Regions from separate parts of the Homo sapiens genome. Here region 2 is linked to region 1. Evidence: promoter capture Hi-C in 16 types of primary human blood cells and fetal thymus (Javierre and others, 2016). All regions are on one chromosome and are shown on one strand. Each heading gives the region's core, a stretch centred on a gene start or on the middle of the fragment in contact. The rest is flanking DNA. Distances are from core to core; before and after follow the strand shown.

Evidence for each region. Contacts are between HindIII fragments. The CHiCAGO score rates a contact against its expected background, and 5 or more counts as called.
Region 2: a contact is called between a fragment that was not itself captured here and the fragment with the promoter of KRTAP1-4 in region 1, in 1 of 17 cell types (total B cells). The highest score is 6.8, in total B cells.

Annotation. Positions count from the first base shown.
Region 1 is chr17:41,028,872-41,031,658 of GRCh38, reverse strand. It overlaps KRTAP1-4 (keratin associated protein 1-4), which reads left to right and starts at 1,464. Exons shown (of 1, transcript NM_001257305.2): 1 at 1,464-2,308. The coding sequence starts at 1,581. The coding sequence ends at 1,946. RefSeq lists an enhancer at 1,825-2,374. The HindIII fragment of the contact is 2,506 bases long and covers 308-2,787 here.
Region 2 is chr17:41,286,829-41,289,615 of GRCh38, reverse strand. No RefSeq gene overlaps it. Among named protein-coding and RNA genes, the nearest start is that of KRTAP9-7, 13 kb to the right of the region's middle. The HindIII fragment of the contact is 390 bases long and covers 1,246-1,635 here.

The DNA.
Region 1 (2,787 bases), core at 215-2,714:
ATCTAATATGTGTGAGACGATATCTCATTGTGGTTTCAATTTGCATTATCCGATGATTGGTGATTTTGAAAATTTTTCATATACCTGTTGGCAATTTGTAGATTTTTTTTGAGAAATGTCTATTTAGATTTTTTGCCCATTTTTCAATTACGTTATTTGTTTTCTTACTACAGGTATTGAGTTGTTTGAGTTTCCTCTATACTTTGGATATTAACCCTTTATCAGATATGTGGTTTATAAATATTTTCTCCCATTCAGCGGTTTGCGTCTTCACTCAGTTTAGTGTTTTATTGGCTGTGCAGAAGCTTTTTAGTTTGATGTAATCCCACTTGTCTATTTTTGCTGATGCTTTTGGATTCATGTTCACAATATCACAATATTGGCCAGGCAAAAGTCATGGAGTTTCCTCTGTTTTCTTCTTATAGTTTTATCATTTTGAGTCTTTCTTACATTTCAGTCTTTTAATCCATTCTAAGTTGGTTTTTGTATATAATGTGAGACAATGGTCTAATTTCATTTCTTCTGAATGTGAATGTGGTCAAATGATTTTCAACAAGGGTGACAAGACTATTTACAAATGGTTAAGATGGTTAATGTAAATGGTTCATAAATTTTATGGTATGTATATTTTACCACAATTAAAAATTTGTAACTATAAACATGTGTAGGAGACCCAAACTTTTCTGAAATAGAAGATATATATGTATATATGCTGGTTTATATTTGCAGAAGCAAGGATAAAGGTGTCAAAGAATGTGCACCAAATTCTTAATATTGATTACCTCTAGAGCATTAGTTTTGGAAGAGATGTGTGCATCTTCCAGGAAGGGAAAAGACACTAATTTTTCTTTATATACCTCTGTACTCTTTGACTTGTTACAATGTGTACTCATTACTAGCACATATGTTTAATTTAATAGAGTCAGAAAACAATCTACAAGCAAAAGTCATTAAAGATTTTAGTTAGCAATTTGTACATTCACTATTACTGAAGGCAAGAATATTAGATAGAGCTCTGAGGATCCTATAACTTGCACAAATTGATCATAGAAAGGCATACTTGGTTTGAAAGTTGATACATCAGGTTGTAGTTCATGTTTTGATGACACTAATGTTAGTCTTTCCAAGTCTGGACAAATTGTTTATAAAATCATGATCATAGTTAAGTGACCATTTAAGGAAAAATGATCAGTTAAGATAAATTCTGCCTAAAGGTTATCAAAGGACAACTATGACAAAACGTGCCAGGGCGACACTTGGCTCAAGGCTAGTCTGTCATGTGACTTGCATAAAGAGGCACTTCGGTGCTTGGCTTCCATGATGAGCCTTCACTTCGCCCAGAGGGCAAAGAAGAAACATAATGAGACTTAATTGTACAATGGAAAAAGGCTATTGAAATGCTATTTATAACTTTATAAACACCTCAGGTATTAGCCAGAGACTCACACTGAAATTGACATCAAGAAAAGGTGTTGGGTAAATATGCAGCTCTAGGGAACATATCAAAGGACAGATATAGAAGGTACAGCCCAAACTCAGAAACCTCTCTTAACACAGCTCTCAACCCAACTCCTGACACCATGGCCAGCTGTTCCACCAGTGGGACCTGTGGCTCCAGCTGCTGCCAGCCAAGCTGCTGTGAAACTAGCTGCTGCCAGCCAAGCTGCTGCCAGACCAGCTCCTGCGGAACCGGCTGTGGCATTGGTGGTGGCATTGGCTATGGCCAGGAGGGCAGCGGTGGATCTGTGAGCACCCGTATCAGGTGGTGCCACCCAGATTGCCACGTGGAGGGCACCTGCCTGCCCCCCTGCTACCTGGTAAGCTGCACACCCCCATCCTGCTGCCAGCTGCACCACGCCGAGGCCTCCTGCTGCCGCCCGTCCTACTGTGGACAGTCCTGCTGCCGCCCAGCCTGCTGCTGCCACTGCTGTGAGCCCACCTGCTAAAAGCCAGGTTGCTGATCGCTTAAGAATGAAAGGGGAAGCACAGCAAAATTGTGCTGATTTCTGAAGAACTGTTCGATTTTACTTGGATGCTAAGTACCATGATGTTGTTAAGCTGCTCAGAGATAATGAAACTCCTAGTTAGGACACTGTGGATGTGCCGAATTCACTTACTGAAAGATGTATCAATCAGTGTTCTGGATAGCTTGCGTTGCTTGAGCAGAGGACCAGGATGGAATAGTTCATCATTTCAGTGACATCTCTGCTCCCCCAACTCTCTCTTGATGCTCATGCATCTTCAGACCTGGTTTTTCCTTGAATATCTCTGATTAATCCAAATAAAATGTTTTAATGTGCAAAGCAAACTGAGTTATGTCCTCCTTCTACCTTTAAACATGTCTTCTTGTAGCTGGTATTCAAGAGTGGATTTGCAATTTGATAATAATACCAAGGCATAACCATAAAGTCTAAACCAGAAAGATTAAATACAAAGTAAATTATGCTTGAATCCATCAGCTTAAAAATGCTCCATGAATTAAAGAATTTTTATAGTTCAAATATTTACATGCTCTAATCTATTATGATTAGGTCTAGACCAATAAAGGTTGACCTTTAGCTAAAATGTTAAGGTTGATCAAAGCTATTGATTTCTATCTAAATGTAATTCTACCATCTTTTGTCTCCTTCCATTTAATATACTAAATGTTCTCCTTCATTTATGCCCCAAAATCTAAAGAAATTGCATTACCTTCTAAATAGATTTAAAAATAGCTACTAGATACTACCTATTTTCCAAGAGAATTTAGGTTTAATTTCTACACCTTAGCCTTTCACATTCTTCCCA
Region 2 (2,787 bases), core at 191-2,690, 260 kb before region 1:
AGCTATGCATGATTGTCTTATTTTGGAAATCTCAAATGTGGGATTCGTGTAATGGGCTTTGATAAAGGATGTTAAGGGGCAAAGTTAAGGCAGCCTTGTAAAGGTCAACTTGGAAACTAAATATCAGTAGGGAGTTATCTCAGTGGCTATAAGTTAAGACAACAGAATAAAAACTGATATTTGAGACATAAAAATGGCCCAAAAGATGGGTGTAATGAGCCCATGAGTCCCCAGTATAACATGAAACTTGCCCATCTGCGTGGTGTACGGCATTTGGTGTTACTCATGTTGGTCTCATCAGTTTGCCCACCTAAATAAATTCATCTTACAACAATAGTTCTATAACATCTAGAAGTAAGTTCCCTCCTGTAGCCCACTTCATCAGAAACTTCTTGGCAACACCTGAACCTAGCTGGAACTGGAAAAATATTTGATGGTAGTGATTTCCTGATAAATAGTCTAGAGCTGTTGCAAACAAAATCCAAGGATTGCTCTTTTTAGACACAGTCTTGCTCTGTCGCACAGTCTAGAGTGCAGTGGCTTGATGTTGGCTCACTGCAACCTCCGCCTCCTGGGTTCAAGCGATTCTCCTGCCTCAGCCTGCCGAGTAGCTGAGATTGCAGGTGCGTGTCACCACACCCCACTAATTTTTTGCATTTTTAATAGAGACGGGGTTTCACCACATTTGTCAGGCTGGTTTTGAACTCCTGACCTCAAGTGATCCACCCACCTTGGCCTCCCAAAGTGCTAGGATTACAGGTGTGAGCCACTGTGCCTGGTTAAAGGGTTGCTGTTTAAATGAACTATTTGCTTATGCTCTAAGTCAGCATGGATGGGATCCATAGATCTTTCCCGAAGTCTTAAAAATTAGTCTCTTGACTTAGTGGCATGGGAATAGATGTGAAAGAACTTTGTTTTTTTAAAAATATTAATTAATTAATTAATTTTTGAGACAAAGTCTTGCTCTTTCACCCAGGCTGGAGTGCAGTGGCGCGATCTCAGCTCACTGCAAACTCTGCCTCCCAGGTTCAAGTGATTTTCGTGCCTAAGCCTCCCGAGTAGCTGGGAATACAGGTGCACACTGCCAAGCCTGGTTAATTTTGTATTTTTAGTAGAGACGGGTTTTGCCATGTTGGCCAGGCTGGTCTCGAACTCCTGACCTCAAATGATCCTCCTGCCTTGGCCTTTCAAAGTGCTGGGATTACAGGTGTGAGCCACTGTGCCAGGCCAAAATGGGAAAAAGCTTTGTAAAATATAAAATATCCTTTAAATTTAAGAGCTTATGAAGGATATACTGCACACATAATCTAGGTCACGAAAGGATATGCAAGATGAGTATAGATTACTAGGTGATAAATTGGGAAATGCCTTAGTTGCAAAGAAGATAATTCAAATTATAAATACAATGAAGAAATGTGCAGGAAAGATATTTTAGAGGTGGCAAAATTAACCAGTTATTAAGACAATCAGCAGAGGTGGTGGACAGGGATGGTGAATCTCATGCATGTCCAATTTCTAGTGATACTCATTAGTTAAATCCAAACCCTCACTAGTGGCCATGAAGTCCAATGTTTCTTTAAAAAGGCAGTAAGGACCAATGAAGATTTTTTTCCTTGTCCATAGTTTAGTCAAGCTTCTGAACCTTCTCATAGGCCCATGGGTGCACTTCCTTGTAAAATCCAGTTTTGTAAAATTTTAGCAAAGAGCCCTGCTAAATAGGTTTAGCAAGAACTCCCCATCCTCGATATCTGATCACCCTTAATAGCGGATCAGATCTCTTATCTGCCACCATTCTCCAAGTGATGTTTGATCACCCTCGCCTGTCTTCAGCAAGAGCACTTTTAGGTCAGTTTAGCCAAAATTTCCCTACTGGTGATGCTTCCTCTTAGTAATTTTCCATCCACTGACCGCCACCCTGCTCCTTGGCTGTAAATTCTCACTTGCCCATGCTATGTTAGGAGATGAGTCCAATCTCTGTCTCCCAATGCAAGACCCTGTTATGGTGGTTCCTTTGTTTACTGCAGTGTTCCTGAATAAAGTCTCCCTTACCAGGCTTTCACAAGTGCCATTGAATAATTTTTTTTTTAACAAGACTATGATGAATTTTTAAAAGCCAAATCCCTATTGTTTCCCTGATAACATATTATTTCACCAGAAAAATAAATATAAGAAATTCATTTTAAATGTATCTCAAACCATCAGAAAAGGGCTTAACCTTATTGAACTGAGCTACTAGGAAAGAGGAGGAAAGAAGAAGAGTGGAAACCATCGGTCATTCAGTGCAAGCATGTCCGGCTGTCACCAATAAGCTAGCTGTACCTGTCTTAGGACAGAGCTGTATGAAGGAAGTTAATATTTACCAGTTAAAAGAAAAACGAAAGAGGAAAACAGTGATTCAGCACTAAACAGAATTAAGAGTCAGTCATTTGAAATATAGAAAGCCCTAGAAATACCATTACAAACAACAATAATAACAATAAGCCCCCTATTGTATAATAACAAATTGTGCAATAGGTAAAAGATAGATTGTTTAAAGTCTTCTTGGATGTTGTAAGTTATTTTCAGGGCCAAAAAGGAAAAAACTGCTCTTGCAATTCAAGTTCGGGTATATATTTTGCAAATGCTGGCATGCTCAATGCTTCCTGAAGGAGAGGGAGCTATCCTTATTTTGATCAGTTCAGATTGAATGAAAATTTTCTCTGATGCTAATATAGATCCAGTCTCCCAAATTTTAGGTTCCCCACGATTCTTCAAACATCACCAATAAGAGTTCAATGTTCTTGGCTG